Linked DNA regions of Homo sapiens: regions 1, 2, 3, 4, 6 and 7 are each linked to region 5. The links are contacts of gene promoters, found by promoter capture Hi-C in blood cells and fetal thymus (Javierre and others, 2016). All regions are on one chromosome and are shown on one strand. Each heading gives the region's core, a stretch centred on a gene start or on the middle of the fragment in contact. The rest is flanking DNA. Distances are from core to core; before and after follow the strand shown.

What was found. Contacts are between HindIII fragments. The CHiCAGO score rates a contact against its expected background, and 5 or more counts as called.
Region 1: a contact is called between a fragment that was not itself captured here and the fragment with the promoter of SMARCC2 in region 5, in 12 of 17 cell types (naive B cells, total CD8 T cells, naive CD8 T cells and 9 more). The highest score is 13.9, in naive B cells.
Region 2: a fragment that was not itself captured here is called in contact with the fragment with the promoter of SMARCC2 in region 5 in 6 of 17 cell types (naive CD4 T cells, total CD8 T cells, fetal thymus and 3 more); the score reaches 7.4 in naive CD4 T cells.
Region 3: a contact is called between a fragment that was not itself captured here and the fragment with the promoter of SMARCC2 in region 5, in 5 of 17 cell types (naive CD4 T cells, total CD8 T cells, total B cells and 2 more). The highest score is 6.2, in naive CD4 T cells.
Region 4: a contact is called between a fragment that was not itself captured here and the fragment with the promoter of SMARCC2 in region 5, in 5 of 17 cell types (total CD4 T cells, naive CD8 T cells, non-activated CD4 T cells and 2 more). The highest score is 8.1, in total CD4 T cells.
Region 6: the fragment with the promoter of DNAJC14 here is called in contact with the fragment with the promoter of SMARCC2 in region 5 in 1 of 17 cell types (naive B cells); the score reaches 5.3 in naive B cells.
Region 7: a fragment that was not itself captured here is called in contact with the fragment with the promoter of SMARCC2 in region 5 in 5 of 17 cell types (erythroblasts, activated CD4 T cells, total B cells and 2 more); the score reaches 6.8 in erythroblasts.

Annotation. Positions count from the first base shown.
Region 1 is chr12:56,500,080-56,502,783 of GRCh38, reverse strand. No RefSeq gene overlaps it. Among named protein-coding and RNA genes, the nearest start is that of SNORA105C, 11 kb to the left of the region's middle. The HindIII fragment of the contact is 1,533 bases long and covers 666-2,198 here.
Region 2 is chr12:56,592,054-56,594,753 of GRCh38, reverse strand. RBMS2 (RNA binding motif single stranded interacting protein 2) reads right to left here. Exons shown (of 14, transcript NM_002898.4): 14 at 1-2,700. Among named protein-coding and RNA genes, the nearest start is that of BAZ2A, 37 kb to the left of the region's middle. The HindIII fragment of the contact is 7,914 bases long and covers 1-2,700 here.
Region 3 is chr12:56,518,124-56,520,823 of GRCh38, reverse strand. It overlaps a transcript of RBMS2 not described here. Among named protein-coding and RNA genes, the nearest start is that of RBMS2, 2.3 kb to the left of the region's middle. The HindIII fragment of the contact is 4,136 bases long and covers 1-2,700 here.
Region 4 is chr12:55,798,919-55,801,696 of GRCh38, reverse strand. It overlaps SARNP (SAP domain containing ribonucleoprotein), which reads left to right. Exons shown (of 11, transcript NM_033082.4): 3 at 797-843; 4 at 1,068-1,135. Among named protein-coding and RNA genes, the nearest start is that of SARNP, 17 kb to the left of the region's middle. The HindIII fragment of the contact is 8,110 bases long and covers 1-2,778 here.
Region 5 is chr12:56,188,129-56,190,828 of GRCh38, reverse strand. SMARCC2 (SWI/SNF related BAF chromatin remodeling complex subunit C2) reads left to right here and starts at 1,346. Exons shown (of 29, transcript NM_001330288.2): 1 at 1,346-1,478. The coding sequence starts at 1,368. TRS-CGA4-1 (tRNA-Ser (anticodon CGA) 4-1) reads right to left here and starts at 465; the gene lies at 384-465. It overlaps LOC107984468 (a long non-coding RNA gene), which reads right to left and starts at 137. Exons shown (of 2, transcript XR_007063330.1): 1 at 1-137. RefSeq lists an enhancer at 700-799 and silencers at 1,040-1,319, 1,390-1,609. The HindIII fragment of the contact is 5,408 bases long and covers 1-2,700 here.
Region 6 is chr12:55,828,234-55,830,992 of GRCh38, reverse strand. It overlaps DNAJC14 (DnaJ heat shock protein family (Hsp40) member C14), which reads left to right and starts at 1,406. Exons shown (of 7, transcript NM_032364.6): 1 at 1,406-1,504; 2 at 2,279-2,759. The coding sequence starts at 2,335. It also overlaps the pseudogene TMEM198B. RefSeq lists enhancers at 1-138, 93-830 and a silencer at 1,359-1,468. The HindIII fragment of the contact is 16,581 bases long and covers 1-2,759 here.
Region 7 is chr12:56,570,775-56,573,474 of GRCh38, reverse strand. RBMS2 (RNA binding motif single stranded interacting protein 2) reads right to left here. Exons shown (of 14, transcript NM_002898.4): 5 at 1,620-1,777. Among named protein-coding and RNA genes, the nearest start is that of RBMS2, 50 kb to the right of the region's middle. The HindIII fragment of the contact is 3,027 bases long and covers 1-2,700 here.

The sequences.
Region 1 (2,704 bases), core at 183-2,682, 310 kb before region 5:
TTGCAGTGAGGCGAGATCTCGCCACTGCACTCCAGCCTGGGCAACAAGAGCGAAACTCCATCTCAAAAAAAAATAAATAAATAAAAATAAAAATACAATACTGAAATAGCATATTACACCTACTGGCATGGCAAGCACACAAAAAAAGTGATAACCGGCCAGCCACGGTGGCTCACGCCTGTAATCCCAGCACTTTGGGAGGCCGAGGCAGGCGGAGCACCTGAGGTCAGGAGTTCGAGACCAGCCTGGTCAACATGGCGAAACCCCATCTCTACTAAAAATACAAAAAAAAAGTTAGCCGGGTGTGGTGATACATACCTGTAATCTCAGCTACTTGGGAGGCTGAGGCAGGAGAATAACTTGAACCCGGGAAATAGAGGTTGCAGTGAGCTAAGATCGTGTCACTGCACTCCAGCCTGGGCAACAGAGAGAGACTCCATCTCAAAAAAAAAAAAAGTGATAACCAACTGAAGTGAGGGAGGAAAAACAGGCACTCTACTACATTGCTGGTAAAACTGAAAAATGGCATGACCAGTATGGACGGCAATTTGTCAACATCTTTAAAAATTACAAATATATATACTCTTTGACACATCAATTATACTTTTAGAAATTTATCCTACAGTTATATTTGCAAACTTGCAAAATGACAAGATATACAAGCTTATTTACTGCAGCACTGTCTGTAATAACTAAGGTAACCATAAAACATATATTACCCAAATTGGAATACTGTTGGAACAGAAAGAGGACAGTATTCATATACAAGCTGGGGCTGGGTGTGGTGGCTCAAGCCTGTGATTCCAGTACTTTGGGAAGCTGAGGTGGGTGGATCACTTGAGGTCAGGAGTTCGAGACCAGCCTGGTCAACATGGTGAAACTCTGTCCCCACTAAAAATACAAAAGTTAACCGGGTGTGGTGGCTCATGCCTATAGTCCCAGCTACTCAGGAGGCTGAGGCAGGAGAATTGCTTGAACTCAGGAGGTAGAGGTTGCAAGAAGACAAGATGGTGCCACTGCACTCCAGCCTGGGCAACAGAGCAAGACACCATCTCAAATTGTGGACAGCAAGCCACCCAGGCACCGAGGCAAGAGACAGAGGACACGAGCTGTTCCAGTATAATAGAATATAAAACAAGAATAGTTATACCAGATATAGATCTTAGATATGATTGTATATGAATATCATTAATCATTAGTTTGTAGCAATTTTTATTCCAATATTATGATAATCCTCGCTCTATAATCATAGCCTAGGAAAAACCACGCCATACAGAGATAGGAGCTGAGGGGACATAGTGAGGTGTGACCAGAAGACAAGAGTGCGAGCCTTCTGTTATGCCCGGACAGGGCCACCAGAGGGCTCCTTGGTCTAGCGGTGACGCCAGCGTCTGGGAAGACGCCCGTTATCAGGAGGATCGTGGTCCAGCGGTAGCAAAAGGTGTCAAGGAACAACACCCGCTACTTAGCAGACCGGGAAAGGGCGGGGCGGGGGGGGGGGTCTCCCTTTCCCCAGGGGAGTTTAGAGAAGACTCTGCTCCTCCACCTCTTGTGGAGGGCCTGACATCAGTCAGGCTTGCCCGAAGTTATCGGGAGGCCTAACCGTCTCCCTGTGATGCTGTGCTTCAGTAGTCGCACTCCTAGTCTGCCTTCATGTTCCATCCTGTACACCTGGCTCTGCCTTCCAGATAGCAGTAGTAAATTAGTGAAAATACTAATAGTCCCTGATATGCAGAAATAATGATGTAAGCTGTCTCTCTCTCTGTCTCCTCTCCCTCTCTGCCTCAGCTGCCAGGCAGGGAAGGGCCCCCTGTCCAGTGGACACGTGACCCACGTGACCTTACCTATCATTGGAGGTGACTCACATTCTTTACCCTGCCCCTTCTGCCTTGTATCCAATAAATAACAGCGCAGCCAGACATTCGGGGCCACTACCGGTGTCTGCGCATTGGTGGTAGTGGTCCCCCGGGCCCAGCTGCCTTTTCTCTTGTCTCTTTGTCTTGTGTCTTTATTTCTACACTCTCTCATCGCCGCACACAGGGAGAGACCTACCGACCCTGTGGGGCTGGTCCCTACATCTGGCGCTCCGACGTGGGGCTCTCCCTCGCTGTGTGAAGTTGCGCCCTGAGTGCGGGATCAGCGGAGGAGTTCAACGAGAGATTCCTGAGGATTGCAGTCAATAAACTTGGTGGTAAGCTTGAGCACTCAGAGTTTTCCGGGGACACCATGGGACAGGCCAGTACAAAGTATTCGGCTTATTTAAATTTTATAAAAACTCTTCTTAAAGAAGGAGGTGTTAAAGTTTCTACTGAAAAGTTAATTGAACTATTTGAGGTTGTAGATCTTCTTTGCCCTTGGTTTCCGACTCAGGGAACTCCAGAACTTAAAGATTGGGATGAGATTGGCAAACAATTCAAAATTGCTCATAAAGGGGGACATTTTATCCCACCCACCATTTGGTCAATCTGGGCTTCGGTTCGCTCTGTCTTAGACTCCTTATAGACTCAGGAGGACAATATGGAGACTGATCCCTCTTTCCTCTCCTCTGAGGAGGTCGAGGAAGCTCTCAGCTCTCTTTCCCCTGATGATACTGCACAAATTGAGAACGTAATTTCAAAGGAGGACTTCCACTCTGACATGCCTGCGCCACCGCCACCTACGCCAGAGGCCACTGCACCCCCATTGCCGCTTTATGATGATCTTT
Region 2 (2,700 bases), core at 139-2,638, 400 kb before region 5:
AGGTCAGGGGTAACGGGTGATGAGGGCACCTGGCTTTTGTAATCATGTGGGGACTGTCCCCTGGGAGGTGCAGCAAAAATCAGAACGGAGACAGAAGCTCACAGTCTGGTTTTAGCTGCCAACTCCTATGGAAGTCCATAGCTGACTCCTATGGAAGGCCTACCAAATGAGGAAATTTCAGGAATTTGCTAATGCGTGGGAGGATTGAAAATGTAGGCAGCACAGAAATAGAGTAGTTGGTTTAAACGGGAATCAGGAAGGATTGGTATAACAAGGCACAAGATTTGGAATTTACCCTTTACAGACTGGCTTTTATAACACCCACCCTCGTCTCTGAAGCCTGCTGATTCAGGGCTAGCAGAGCCTAGGGGCAAGTTTGGGCCAGATCACCCACCCAGTTTATTGCCCTTGGCTAAGAATGCAAAGCCCCTCATGAGCGCAATGCTGCCACTTGCCCAGAAGGTGGGGCATGTGCACAAGGCAGCAGCAATAGTTCTTTTCTAGAAGACTAATAGCCACTGCTACTAGGGATTCCTAGGACATTCCAGCAAGGCCTCTCACAGCATCATATGACGCAAAGTAACAGCCCACGGGTTGACATTGGAGTGACAGGCCTCAACTCCCAATGGGTTGACATTGGAGTGACAGGAGTAGGCACTGGAGGCACTAAGGGAGGGTGAGTGAGCTGATTGTCAAGTTAGGAAAGGAAAACGAATGGAGTGGAGCTGAAGTGGCCCAACCCAGCGCATGGCCTGTGAAGCAGCAAAGTCTGGTCTTCATCTTCAATATGAGTAATGTCCTCTTACCACTCCTTATCTGTTACTGACAAGGTCTATTACCCTTTAGAGCCACCAGGCTTCCTGGCCTGGGCAACTCTACAAATTCTTTAGTTAAAAACACTACAAAGGGCCGGGTGCAGTGGCTCACGCCTGTAATCCCAGCACTTTGGGAGGCCAAGGCAGGTGGATCATTTGAGCCCAGGAGTTCAACACCAGCCTGGGCAATGTGGCAAAACCCTGTCTCTACTAAAAATACAAAAATTAGCCAGGCATGGTGGCAGGCACCTGTAATCCCAGCTACTCAGGAGGCTGAGGCAGGAGAACTGCTTGAACCCAGGAGATGGAGGTTTCAGTGAGCCAAGATCACGCCACTGCACTCCAGCCTGGGCGACAGAGCGAGACTCCGTCTCAAAGAAAAAATAAAAATAAAAAAACTGAAAAGGCCAGGTGTGGTGGCTCATGCCTATAATCCCAGCACTTTGGGAGGCCGAGGTGGGTGGATCATTTGAGCCCAGGAGTTCGAGACGAGGCTGGGCAACATGGCGAAAACCTGTCTCTATTAAAAATACAAAAATTAGCTGTTTGGAGGTCAGGAGTTGGACACTAGCCTGGCCAACGTGGTAAAACCCCATCTCTACTAAAAATAAAAAAATTAGCCAGGCATGGTGGCACAAGCCCATAGTCCCAGCTACTTGGTGGCCGGGGAAGGGGTGGCTGAGGCAAGAGGATCACCTGAGCCTTGGGAGGTCGAGGCTGCAGTGAGCCATTATGGTGCCACTGCACTCCAGCCTGGGCCACAGAGTGAGACCCTGTCTCAAAAAAACAAAACAACAAAACCAAAAAACCAAAAACATTAAAAACAACATCTCATCCAAGCATGGAGGCTCACACCTGTAATCATAGCACTTTGGGAGGCTGAGGTGGGAGGCTCACTTGACAGGAGTTCAAGACCAGTCTGGGCAACATAGTAAGACCCCTGTCTCTACAAAAACTTAAAATAACGAACTGGGCTTGGTAGTATGTGCCTGTACTTCCAGCTACTTGGGAGGCTTAGGTGGGAAGAACCCTTGGGCCCAGGAATTCAAGACTGTAGTAGACTACGACTGCATCACTGCACTCCAGCCTGGGTGACACAGCAAGACCATCTCTAAAAAATAAAATAAAGGCCGGGCGCGGTGGCTCACGCCTGTAATCCCAGCACTTTGGGAGGCTAAGGCGGGCAGATCACCTGAGGTCAGGAGTTCGAGACCAGCCTGGCCAACATGGTGAAACCCCATCTCTACTAAAAATAAAAAAATTAGCCGGGCATGGTGGTGGGTGCCTGTAATCCCAGCTACATGGGAGGCTGAGGCAGGAGAATTGCTTGAACCTGGGAGGCGGAGGTTGCAGTGAGCCGAGATCGTGCCATTGCACTCCAGCCTGGGCGACAGAGCAAGACTCTGTCTGAAAAAATAAAATAAAATAAAAACATCTCTCTCCATCATCATCTCCACATCTTCCTGACCTCTCTACTGGCACCCTCCTCCAAAAAGTCCAATCAGTTTAGGGTCTGAGTATCATCTCAGAGCCTGAGATGAGGAGTAATAACACCGATAGGAGATGGCTAGGCAGGCTCAGAGCCTATAAAGGATTATGCCATCTGAGGAAAGGACTCTAGTGTGTTCTAGCTGACTGAAAACAGAAAAATGCCAAGTACTAAAATATTTTAAGAATGTTATGAGCATCTGTAATGAGTGGGGGTGAGATGTAAAGTACAAAGAGAGTAAGAGCTGGGCTCCATGAAGACAGCATTCAGAAAACACTAGGCATAGTGTTTAAGAGCCCAACCCTTGGCTGTGAGCTGGAAGGCTCCCCTATGTTTCCTTCTGCCATCAACCCAACCAATTAGACTATTTCATGGGAGAAACAGTATCCCTCCTTT
Region 3 (2,700 bases), core at 76-2,575, 330 kb before region 5:
ACTCACCAAACCTGGAGTTTATGTCTAAATTGAAGTCTACAGTTGGGATGTCTGCTTTGAGTTGTCTTTGAGCTGTTTAAAAAAAAAAAATACTTAAGAAGCATATGCTTCAACAGAATAAAAACACAAAATTCTTAGGAAGGAATACAAATTTCAGAGTCAAGAACCTAATAGAGTTGCAACACTTACCTCTACTAGTTTCCAAAGAATGTCTTTGTAGGCGTAACCTTAACAAGAAAGGAAACCAAAAACTTAAGAATGATATCCAGTAACCCCTACCAATCCAAGTGCAATAGGGATGTTAAATGAAAGCCTTCAAATCCCTTCATAAGGCCACCTTGCTGCCATCCTAAGTAGTTTCTTGAGATATAAATTAACCCTGTCTGTTTTGTGACAACAAATATTAAGCCCAAACCCTCCCTCAAATGAAGTTCTGGTCTCTATTCTAGTTTCCGTGTCACTTTTTTGCTATGATAATGGAACAGACAGTATTAGTATTCTGCAGAGTAAATATACATACCCTACCCCCAATCTCTAACTTTCATTTCCAATAGGACAGGAAGTGCCTGCTCAGCTCAGGGGACACAGGAAGGGTGGGAGAGCCTCAGTGTGGGAATTGCAACTGAGACTGGAAACACAGCAGCCAAATGCAGTAAATAAATAAATGAAGGCATCACTCAGTGATATCTTTTTTTTTTTCTGAGACAGAGTCTTGCTCTGTTGCCCAGGCTAGAGTGCAGTGGTGCTATCTTGGCTCACCGCAACCTCTGCGTCCCGGGTTCAAGCGATTCTCCTGCCTCAGCCTCCCGAGTAGCTGAGACTATAGGCATGCGCCACCATGCCCGGCTAATTTTTTTGTATTTTTAGTAGTCTTGTTGGCCAGACTGGTCTCAAACTCCCGACCTCAGGTGATCTGCCCGCCTTGGCCTCCCAAAGTGCTGGGATTACAGGAGTGAGCCACCGCGCCCGGCCCATATATATATATATATATATTTTTTTAAGTCCTTTTTCTGCTCTCAGAGACTCTCATTAACCAATTTATCCTTGCTGTTTAGGCCCTTGGATGATATCTTCTCCTTTACCCTAACAATGTGGTACAGAAACCTTTCTCTTGAAGGCCTGATTCATAAAGGCAATCAACCCAATTTAACTTTTTTTTTAAGTCTAATTTTTCTTTCTACTTTTTTTTTTTCCCCCTGAGACAGAGTCTCACTCTGTCGCCAGGCTGGAGTGCAGTGGTGCAATCTTGGCTCACTGAAACCTCTGCCTCCCGGGTTCAAACGATTCTCCCGCCTTAGCCTCCTGAGTAGCTGGTACTACAGGCATGTGCCACGACGCCCAGCTAATTTTTGTATTTTTAGTGGAGACGGGGTTTCACCATGTTGGCCAGTCTGGTCTCGAACTCCTGACCTCAGGCAATCCACCCGCCTTGGCCTCCCAAAGTGCTGGGATTACAGGTGTGAACCACGGCACCCGACCGAAAAATCTAAATTTTTATAATCTGGTAAATTAGGACCACAGAAGTAAAATGACCCGGATATGCAAACTGATGCCAAAGGTGTATTATGTTAAAGAGCACCAACAAAACTGGAAACTAAATCCTTCATTCTGGTGAGTATATGTATTATAAACATATATTTTTTTTTATGACAGGGTCTCACTCTGTCACCTAGGCTGGAGTGCAGTAGCACAATCACGGCTCACAACAGGCAGCTTTGACTTCCCCAGGTTCAGGTGATCCTCACACCCATCCCACCCCTCCCCACCCTGTAGCTGGGACTACAGGCATGCACCACCACACCTGGCTAACTTTTGTAATTTTTTTTTTTTTGGTAGAGACGGGGTTTCATCATGTTGCCCAGGCTGGTCTTGAATTCCTCAGCTCAAGCAATTTGCCCACCTCAGTCTCCAAAACTGCTGGCATTACAGGTGAGTATATTTGTAAAGGAGTTATGGAATTCTGTGGAAATGATGGGGAAGGTAATGGTGTTCTGTGGTTAGATTCAGGAAGTATACGGGAGGAGGAAGAATCCTACTTCCTCCAGTGTATTTACTTTGACGCCCTTCTGCTTTGCCCATTACATTGCCCACATTTTTCCAGATTTAGTCAATGCCTCTCTAATTCTTGGTTCTCATGAACCCAGCACTCAGGAATTGTTTTGAAGGGAAAAAAGCAAAATGAGAGTTATCTGTAACTTCTTTGGGGAAGAGACATTTGTACCTGATTCAATATAGGCTTGTTTGTGATTTCTCCAGAAAAACAACTCTTTTAAACAAGTGTCCAAGGTGAAGGAGTAGGGGCTAGGTCAACCCCAAAATGTAGCTGAAAAATGTCCCAGCACTTTGGGAGGCTGAGGTGGGCAGATTGCTTCAGTCCAGGAGTTCAAGACCAATGTGGGCAACATGGCAAAACCCCATTTCTGCTAAAAATACAAAAAACTAGCCAGGCATGGTAGTGCATATCTGTAGTCCCAACTCCTCAGGAGGCTGAGTTGGGAGAGCCATCTGAGCCTGGGAGGTCGAGGCTGCAGTGAGCTGAGATGGCGCCACTGTACTCCAGCCCAGGCAACCAAAGTGAGATCCTGTCTCAAAATAAAAGAAAAAGAAAAATAAAGAAAAATGTTTGCATGCCTCTATTGGCCCCTCCATATCAGAGTGGAGAATTCAGAAGAATGTATTACCTGTAGATGTGCTGGACCC
Region 4 (2,778 bases), core at 112-2,611, 390 kb after region 5:
GCAGGGAGCTGTGATTGTGCCATTGCACTTTATCTGGGCGACAGAGTAAGACTCTGTCTCAACAAAAACAAATGTCTTGTCATTTGTCTTTTAAGTTTCTTTGTGCTATCCTTAAGTAGAAGTACTTAGTTTTGAAAAATCTTCAATTTTTCACCTCTTACTTTTGGTTCTGGGTTGTTTTTCTTTTAAACAAATCTTTCCCCACCACTAAATCTCAAAGATACTTTTCCACATACTTTTTTTGTTTGTTATTCAAGACTGGGTCTTGCTCTGTCACCCAGGCTGGAGTGCAGTGACATGATCTCAGCTCACTGCAGCCTCTGCCTTCTGGGTTCAAGTAATGTTCCCACTTCAGCCTCCCCAGTAGCTAAGACTATAGGCGCACACCCCCACACCCAGCTAATTTTTTTATGTTTTTTGTAAAGACGGGGTTTCGCTGTGTTCCCCAAGCTGGTCGCTTGAACTCCTAGGTTCAAACGATCCACCTGCCTCTGCCTCCCAGATTGCTGGGATTACAGAGAGCCACGGTGCCTGGCCCAACATTACTTTTAAAATTAATTCTCTAGTTTGACTTCACATTTAGTTCTTCAGTCCAACTGGAGTTCACATTTGTAATTAATGTTAGGTAGAAATCTGGTTTTATCTTCTCCAGATGTAGCAGATTTTATGTGCATCAGTTTCTGCCTTCACTGTTGGATTTTTTGGGGGAAAGCAAAGTGATTATAATTTTAACCTTGGTAAGTGATCAAGATGGTTTTGTAGCAGGGCTTGACCTGAATATTTTAATATTCTTTAGCTGAAGAGGAGGCAAATGAAGAAGATGTACTGGGAGATGAAACAGAGGTGAGTTGGATAGAGTAAGGTTAGTCTCTGGTAATGTGCCACTGCTTTGGCCACATTGCTTTAACATCAGTCATTGGAGGACTTAGATGTAAATTTATTAGGGGAGCATAAGATGGGTATGAAGGTTCTGAGAGACTGGTTTATTTTGGAGTTCTGATGTTCTTCTTTTGATAGATATTTATTCTTTAGATTTATGTTAACCACCTTGTTTCATTTGGTTTTAGGAAGAAGAAACAAAGCCCATTGAGCTCCCTGTCAAAGAGGAAGAACCCCCTGAAAAAACTGTTGATGTGTAATTATCCCTTTTTTATAATCTGAGTACAGAGCAGGCAGCTCTTTTCTTAATGTATTTAATGTTTAACTTTGTTTACCTCTTACATGTTCCCATTGGCCTTTTCCTTTCTGATTAGGTCATTTTTTTGTTTTTTAGAAGGGACTACTTCAAAGTACTTGGTCCCAGTGAAGTAAAGCAAATTGTCTCTGAGTTATGTAATAGGTAATGAGGACCAGGTGACTTCAAGACCAGACATAGTTTAATTCTCCTAGCCTTTGTTGTTCTTTTGTAGGGTCACCATAATAGATTATTCTGTTACTCTATAGAGAATCTGTACAATTCTGTATGCAGTGTAAAACTGTGTAAACTCTGTTAACTTTTTTTTTTTTGAGACAGGATCTCACTCTGTTGCCCAGACTGGAGTGCAGTGGCGTGATCTTGGCTCACCGTAACTTCTGCTTCCCAGGCTCAAGCAATTCTCCTGCCTCAGCCTCCCGAGTAGCTGGGATTATAGGTGTGTGCCACTACTGCCCGACTGATTTTTGTATTTTTAGTAGAGACAGGGTTTTACCATGTTGGCCAGGCTGGTTTTGAACTCCTGACCTCAAATGATCCGTCTGCCTTGGCGTCCCAAAGTGCTGGGATTACAGGTGTGAGCCACCGTGCCCGGCCCATTCTGTTAACTGTTCATAAGAGTTTTGCACTTTTCTGGAAAAGTGTAAAACTGAGGCCAGGCACGGTGGCACACACTTGTAATCCCAGCACTTTGGGAGGCCGAGGTGGGTGGATTACGAGGTCAGGAGTTCAAGACCAGCCTGGCCAAGATGGTGAAACCCTGTCTCTTCTAAAAATACAAAAATTAGTTGGGCGTGGTGGAGGGCACCTGTAATTCCAGCTACTTGGGAGGCTGAGGCAGGAGAATTGCTTGAACCTGGGAGGTGGAGGTTGCAGTGAGCCGAGACTGTGGCACTGCACTCCAGCCTGGGAGCCACAGCTGTCTCGGGAAAAAAAAAAAAAAAAGTGTGACACTCTATATAAAGGAGTTTTGTAAGGGAGGAGGGTGTTGGGTAGAGGTTATGTTTCTGAAGTAGCACTCTGTTCTCTCTTGCTTTCTGATTTACAGTGGAGGATGGGAGGACAAAGTGCTAGAATGGAAAGTAGATCTTGATTTGTTTAAACTGTTCCACAAGGGTGATCCTAAACATCTTTAATTTGGGGCTTTTTCCACAAATGTCTGGCCATTTTGTACTATAGTACATTAAGAGCCGTTGAGTCCTAAACTTTGAACATTTTTGTTCCTCATAGTTGTGTTAGTGCATTTAATTATAAAAGGCAGTGTATTTACAAGTAAAAAGTCAGTACATAGTGGAGTATATCAATTAAGAATTAAGTACTCTTTGTATCCATTCTCAGATCTGACTTTACTGAGGTTTTTAGAACAGTACATACTTTTGGAAGATTTTATATATGGGGTCTGTACATGTGTATATGTATGTATGTGTATATATAGATACACGTATACACACACTGTGCACACTTGATTTTTTTTCACATCTGGAAATTTTTTATATCATCATTTTCTTATGTAAGTGTTAGTTATATGCTAGGCATTGTTCTTAAGAGTTATATGCTAGGCATTGTTCTGAATGTTTTACATGTAC
Region 5 (2,700 bases), core at 97-2,596:
TCCCTTTTGGAGAGAGAAAGTGCACGAAAGAAACGTGTGAGAACTGGGGTTACCTTTATGTGCTGTGAAAGGGGTTAAAAAAGTCGACGCCTGTAATCCCAGCATTTTGGGAGGCCGAGGCGGGCAGATAACCTGAGGTCAGGAGTTTGAGACCAGCCTGGCCAATATGGTGAACCTGTCTCTACTAAAAATACAAAAATTAGCCAGGTATGGTGACGCATGCCTGTGGTCCCAGCTACTCGGGAAGCTAAGGCAGGAGAATTGCTTGAACCCGGGAAGCGGAGGTTGCGGTGAGCCGAGATCGCGCCACTGCACTCCAGCCTGAGCAACAGAGCGAGACTCCCTTTTAATAATAAGAAGAAGAAAGAAAAAAAAAAAAAACCCGTCACGAACAGGATTCGAACCTGTGCGGGGAAACCCCATTGGATTTCGAGTCCAACGCCTTAACCACTCGGCCACCGTGACTTCCAAAACCGCGCTTTATCGCGCGCTTACAGAAGGGGTCCGCACTGCAATCCGGGAATGCGTGCGGGAACCGGAAGCAGGGTACCGGCCCCGACACACACACACCTGAGGACTCCCCACCCCTCGGTTCCTTACCTCCTATCTACGCCACCCAAAGAAAAAGAGTCGGATGGACTGGGTGACCCAGGGAGGGAGGGTCTCCTGCCTAGCGAAGAGTCGGGGTCTCGAGTAGGAGCTCACACCTACTTAGGAGGCGACAGCGAGGCCTGCGGAGGAAGCAGTTGAGGGAAGGCACTGGGCCGCCAGGGTGGCGACTAGGGGACATTTGGGTTAACAAGTGAGGGGAGTGCTGGGTGGACAAGGCGCGAGGAGTGAGGGAGACTCTGAAAAGTTTAAATGGGGAGCTGCTGTGAATGGATGGAAGGAAGGAACTTCTTGGGGAAAGGGGTTTGGGGTTTTGGGGGACGAGGGGCTTCGTCGGGTTAGGAATGCGCAAGGTGAGGACCACTCGGGTCTACGGGTTGGGGCTGCTCCAGCGACTGGCGGCCGCCTGGAGTGGGATAGCGAGGTGACACTCCCGAGCTGAGGCAAAAAGAGGGAAAGGGCTTCGCGTCTGGTAAGAGCGATCTCAGGAGAATGGCGCCCCCTCCAGGAAGCGTCCTTCTCCCCGGAGGCTCCCGCCTCCGCTGCCGGGGAGGCCGCCAGGGTCGGCCCGCGCCTGGAGCTCCGCCGCCGCGCCCGGCCTGCCGGCAGGGGGCGCAGCGCGGACCGGGGCCGGCCCAGGCGGCGGGAGGCGGCGGCCGCGGCGGCGGGAGGCGGCGGGAGGCGGGCGGAGGAGGAGGCGGAGGAGGCGGGAGCTGAGCTGAGTGGGGCGGGCGGCGGCGGGGCCCGAGCCGGAGAAGATGGCGGTGCGGAAGAAGGACGGCGGCCCCAACGTGAAGTACTACGAGGCCGCGGACACCGTGACCCAGTTCGACAACGTGCGGCTGTGGCTCGGCAAGAACTACAAGAAGGTACGCGGGCCGGGCCGGGCCGCGCGGGGACCGGGGGCGGGACAAAGGGACCGCGGCCCTGCAGCCCCGGGATCCTGCCTACCCTCCAGGCGCCCCAGCCCCTCCCCCGCGGCCTCCCAAGCAGCCCCCCGCGCGCCCTCCTGCGCTCCCGCGCCCCTCCCCCAGCCTCCCTCTCCCCGCACCCCCAGCCTCTGAGCCCAGCCCCCGCCCCCACTGCTGCGCCCTCTGCCCCTTGTTTTTCTCTACTGCCCGGCGGGCCCCGGTGCCATTAGCCCACCTTCCCCTCAGCCATCGCCCTCCTGGCTTTTCTGGGAGAGGCGGCCGGCCGGGTGTGGACCGGGTGCCCAATGGGCTCCCCCGCAACCCGGAGCGTGCCCGCCAGAGCTCCCCACGGAGCCAGGTACCAGCGGGGCTGAGGCCTCTCCGGTGCTTTGTGTATGTTCAGAGAGAGAGAATGGAAAGCAGGAGGGTAAACAGTCACAGAGCAAGCCGTTGGCTGCTCATCAGCCTGAAAAAGGTCTCCACCCAGGGATCACCTGTCTCCGCCGCTCATCCCCCACCTTCATCTAAGGGGCAACAGAATCTCTCAGGGAGCCGGGGTATAGGAGTTCCTGGGTAGCGGCCCCTTCCGAAACCTTTCCTCGATTTTACAATGAAGTCACCTTGCAACCTAGCTTTGCAGTACCCTGGGTTTGGGGTCGAGAGGTTAGGGTGAGCTTCCTATCTCTAGCCCCTCACACCCAAACCCCATAACTGGAGATCATAAGGTGGTGAACAAAAGGTTCAAGAATCCTTACCTGTCTTTTCTACCAAACCTCTTCCTGGTGTCGTCTTTGTCTCTAGGCCTGGTTTTCTCTGGAAATGGTCTGCCTCTCTTTTTCTCACTACCCTCAGAGAGGGATTCTCTTTATGGCTTTCTTTCAGCTCCCCAGTTCTTCCTGCCGGCTTTGCAGCTCGTCAGAAGTGTGCTTAGTGGCTTAGGAGAACTTCCTACTGATGCTGGTTGTGAGCCTGGCCCTGCCCTTGGGGTCTCTCTGGGTGTGAGAATCCTGACAAATAGCTGCTATTTCTATGGCATGTCTCTACGCCTGTGAGAGGCTCTTATTCCCAGGCTTCTACCTTTGACCTTTTGCAGGGAGATCAGGCTAGGGGCTTAGCCTCCGGCCTTGGGGGAATTGACAGTTGTGACCTGGTTCAGCTTCCATGCTCTTAGCTCTTTGTC
Region 6 (2,759 bases), core at 157-2,656, 360 kb after region 5:
GCGGCTGTCGGTCAAGAGCACCCCCAGGGTCACTCTGTTGCTGCCTAAACTCTTTCAAGTCGCAGCCCAGGCTCTGTGAGCTAAATGCAACTAGCTTGCAGGGTGGAGAAAGGGGACAGGGCGTGTGTGTTGGGGTGTGTGTTTGTGTTTGTGTGTGTGCGCGCGCGCGTGCGCGCGGTGGGGGGAGGAGGGGTGACATCACAAGGCAGGCCCCTCCAATTCTTTCCCGTGTGTGTGGGGGGACCCAGGTTGCCTACTGCTCTAGTCCAGGACCAGAGACCCCCAACTATATAGCAGGTAAGAGTCTTGAGGGTCACCCCAAGAGTTTTGGAGAAGGGTCTCCGAATACTTAGGAGATGACAACCGGAAGCTCTCAAAGCCCCAATAGGGGTCCCAGCGCCCCCCTAGCTTCAGCTTGGTTTCTTCCACTTTCCAGAGAATTGGAGTATTGTCTCCTGGAGAACCGGGTGGTCGGGATCGTGGACCAGGGAAGGGGCTTTTGCTGGTCGGGGAGCGCCAACTGGGGGTTCATGGGTGGAAAAACTTTCGGATCAAGACGGGGTATAAGGCTAGAGGCGTGTGCAGAGGAGGGGACCGACGGAACGGGGACCCAACTGGGTCTACGTGGGGGCGGGGGCGCTTGTGGACGTCCACCAAATAGCTTGGTATGCAGATGAGATGTCAAGCAGCAGGTAGATGAGTTCAGTGTTCTTTGGCTCACGGGCAAAGTTCTGAGCCGAGCCAAGTTACGCTCCCAGTTCCTAGGCACCGCTCGGTGATCGGGCCTGGGGAGCTGCGACCCGAGGGGCGGATCCAGGTATAAGGGGCAGCTCGCCAGCTGGGTCAAGCGCGGGGGAGGCCGTGGGTTGCTGTGAAAGGAGGGGCAGTGCTGCGGGGCGAGGGAGGGGGCCAGCCGGGGCACCCTCTCCTCTGCTCCACCTCCGCACCGCAGGATACAAAGGGGCCTGTGTCCTCGCAGCTGCCGGCACGGAAGGGATCAGGGCAGTGACTCTTCTGAGCTCCCTGGTTTTGTCTGCAAGGGAAAAAGACTATATGTGGCTCGGTGGCTGCCCTCCATCTCCCAGGAATACAAAGCCTAGGAATACACCCAGAGCAATCCTGAGAGTCTGCCCTTAGTCTGCAGGCATTGGTGCAGAGTCCACCTGCCTTGCTTCCTGCGGTGCAACCTGCGGGAATCCCATTCCCACACGCGGAGGGAGGGGCCTTTAAATGGCGGGGCCAGTACTTCCTTAGGACCGCCTCCTTGGAGTCGACGCAGCCCTAGCTGGATTGGCTTGCCTCTCAGCCAACCGCTATTTCTTTTCCTTCCCGTCTCTTCCCTGGTGACCCCGGAAGTGGAAGTAGGCCCAGGTCGCCGGCGGCCGCGGGGACGGAAGGCGGAAGCAGAGCGTGAGCGGGAGGCGGAGCCGGGAGAGCGGCTCTCGTAGCTCACCCTGGCCCCAGGCCGGGCGGCTCGAGGGGGAGGAGTTACCGCCGTTCTTCGGTACGTCCGTCTTTTTTTTTTTTTTCGTTTTTTTTTGTTTTTTTGAGATGGAGTCTCGCTCTGTCACCCAGACTGGAGTACAGTGGCACGATCTCGGTTCACTGCAACCTCCACCTCCCGGGTTCAAGCGATTCTTCTGCCTCAGCCTCCCGAGTAGCTGGGACTACAGGTGCGCGCCACCACGCCTGGCGAATTTCTGTATTTTTAGTAGAGACGGAGTTTCACCATGTTGGCCAGGCTGGTCTCGAACTCCTGACCTCGTGATCCGCCGGCCTCGGCCTCCCAAAGTGCTGGGATTACAGGCGTGAGCCACGGTGCCCGGCCACCTTCGTCCCTTCTACACAGCCGGTGGGTTCCCTGTTAGTCTTTCTTAGGGGCAGCCCTAAGCTCCGCCCCCAGATTTTCCTCCAGGGCCGCATGGCCCCCACCCATTACTGGAAGTCTGTGGCCCCCTTTCCGGCGGTCTTTCCCATTTTCCTAAGAGTGACCCACCCTCCCCCGACCACACCCTTTACGGTACCTCCCTGTTTCCCTGATTGAAGGTTATAGTTTTCTGGGGAAAGAAGAAAAACTTAAGTGATTTGGAGGAGAGGGGAGGGAGCAAGCAGGGTTGTGGTGAGTCTAGTTTTGGCTTATTGCTAGGAATAGCGAATGCCCCAAAAGAACTTGGGAAAACAAGGGAGGTGGATGAATTAAATGTGTCCACTATTTGAGATTGTTTAATTCCTCTCTTGGTCTCATCCTTGACTGTCTCCACCTTGATATCTGTTACAGGCATCAGAACACACCATGATGGCTGTGACCTAAGACCCTCAGGAAGCCCCGGGGTCATGGCCCAGAAGCACCCCGGAGAAAGAGGGTTGTATGGAGCCCACCACAGTGGTGGTGCCTCCCTCAGGACTTTAGGACCCTCCGTGGACCCTGAAATACCTTCATTCTCAGGACTCAGGGACTCAGCAGGGACTGCTCCTAATGGTACCCGCTGCCTCACAGAGCACTCTGGTCCTAAGCACACACAGCACCCAAACCCAGCCCATTGGTTGGACCCAAGCCATGGCCCCCCAGGGGGTCCAGGACCACCTAGAGATGCAGAGGACCCTGATCAGAGTGAGACGTCTTCAGAAGAAGAATCAGGAGTGGACCAGGAACTCTCAAAAGAAAACGAGACTGGGAACCAGAAGGATGGGAACTCTTTTCTTTCCATTCCATCTGCTTGCAACTGCCAGGGAACACCTGGAATTCCAGAAGGGCCTTA
Region 7 (2,700 bases), core at 194-2,693, 380 kb before region 5:
GATGGCGTCTCGCTTTGCTGCCCAGGCTGGAATGCAATGGCGCGATCTCGGCTTACTGCAACCTCCGCCTCCCGGGTTCAAGTGATTCTCCTGCCTCAGCCTCCCGAGTAGCTGGGACTACAGGAGCCCGCCACCATACCCAGCTAATTTTTGTATTTTTAGTAGAGACGGGGTTTCACCAGGTTGGCCAGGCTGGTCTCAAACTCCTGACCTCAGGTGATCCACCCGCCTCAGCCTCCCAAAGTGCTGGGATTACAGGCGTGAGCCACCACGCCCAGCCAAGAGAAACTATTTCTTGTTCCCAAGGTCTGAAACACTCAGAGTAAGGGGGTGTTCACGGACCAGACAAGATATAAAGCAAAAAGGGGTGCTTGGCTCACTTAGTCCAGTCATTTTGAAACTAAAAAAAAAAAAAAAAGTCAAAAGAATCTCCTTTCAAATAAAATCTTAAAATAAATAAAAGCAGAGCCATTTCTTAAGTGGGCTAAGGGAGGCTGATACCCTACGACAGTGAGGGCAGATACCAAAGCCCAAAGAAGGGCACCTGGGAAAACTGCAGGTATAGGGAATACTGTGGGAAAATTACTCATCTGAATCAATCTCCACTTCAGAGAGTGAACCAAGGCTCACAAGCTCTGATATCACAGGTGCAGAATTGTTCTGGAATACAGGTCTCCCAACAGATCTGAAAAGGAAGATCAAAACTTCTACCTCATCCTACTGCTCTCAAAGCCAGAAGGATCAGGGCTCTGCTCTAACACCCACTCCTGTAAGACCCTGGGCAAATCATTTCTACTGAAGAGTTCACTTTCCTCATCTGTAAGATAGAGAATATTTATCTCACAGGGATGTTGTAAAGATTAAATGAGACAAGATGAGAAATACTCAGTAAACTATAAGAATATACAGAATTTTTTACTCTGGTTGGGTCTGGATTAAAGGAACAAAGCCTAGAGTACTTCCCTAGGAAGTAGTAGGGAGCTTAGCCGAGTGTGGTGGCTCATGCCTGTAATCCCAACTGCTTAGGTGGCTGAGGCAGGAGGATCACTTGAGCCCAGATGTTCAAGAGCAGCCTGGGCAACACAGCAAGACCCCATCTTTATAAAAAAAATATTTAGGTGGGGCTAATGGGTTTTTGAGTATTGTAACCTATAATAAAATGAACCTTTTTTTTTTTTTTTTTTTTGAGACAGAGTCTCACTCTGTTCCCCAGGCTGCAGTGCAGTGGTGCGATCTCAGCTCACTGCAACCTCTGCCTCCCAGGTTCAAGCAATTCTCCTGCCTCAGCCTCCTGAGTAGCTGGGATTACAGGCATGCGCCACCACGTCTGGCTAATTTTTGTATTTTTAGTAGAGACGGGGTTTCACCATGTTTGCCAGGCTGGTCTCAAACTCCTGACCTCAGGTGATATGCCTGCCTTGGCCTCCTAAAGTGCTGGGATTACAGGTGTAAGCCACCGCACCTGGCCTAAAATGAACTTTTGACTTACCATCAAGTATTTTTGAATAATAGTAAAGTATTTTGACCTTGTGTGGGAAAGGCATAGATTTTGTTTTCTGGTGACCCCCAAGTGACATTTGTTATTAACCTCATCATTTCCCCACTCCTGCCATCCTCACCTTGCAAAGCCAACACCTCTGCTGGTCCCACTGGTATCTCGAAGGATACGGGTGGAGATAACCTGGCCAAAGGGCTTCAGCATCCCCTCCAGTTCCTGCTCATCCATTGACAGTGGGAGGTTTGAGATGTATAAATTTGTGGGGTCCTGTTCCTGTTGCTGTGGAAATAACAGTGAGAAAATGAGGCTCACATCTCTTATCCCTCTCCCACCCTCAGCCCTCCCCACAAATGACATTTCAGAAAAGAGACTATAGGAAGGGTCCCACATAAACAAAGATTATTCTATTTGTTAACACCCAGTCCCACTACCACGGGTTGTATATTGAGTTCCAGGAGGGAGAAGTGCAGATTTAATATTTCTAGTACTATACAAGCCCATCATACAAGTCATAAATGGTGTTTGGCTGTCTCTTTTAGAAACAGGCAGAGCAGCATTCCCGCTCTCCCCCAGCAGCCGGTCCCAGAGGCTGGATTCCCTCAGACTGCCTTGCTCCTTGGCTGGCTTGTTTTGAGCAGCCCCTCCCCACTTCTCTTCCAGCCACGCAGAATCCTCTAAGTAGGAATGCCTGTTCACTCCCTGATGGAGGAAGAGCAGGAGGAGGGGAGAAGGGAACAGGGAGAGAGCCAGATGCAGAGTTCACTGTGTCACCACGGAGCCCTGAAAGCTACAGTCTCCTAGGACCCTGAAGGCTCCTAAACCTTTGAGCTTTTGTCAGAGGGTTTTACTCCTGGAAGAAGAGGTAGGAGAGCCCTTCCAGGGGACAGAATGTGCAAAATGGCAATATCATCCAATAGTTGTATTTTTAAGAATTTAAGCAGTCACTCTGCCCTAAACAGTGGTCACCAGCAACCTTAATCCTCTTCTGCCTTTTCCTTTTGTTTTCCTTTTCTTTAACCATTACAGAAAAGGTGTCTAGCAGGCCTGCCTCACAAGCTCTATGTATAATACTCATAACAGCTTCAGAAAGGCAAAGGGACAGCCAGGCGTGGTGGCTCATGCCTGTAATCCCAGCACTTTGGAAGGCTGAGGTGGGCGGATCACAACGTCAGGAGATCGAGACCATCCTGGCTAACACGGTG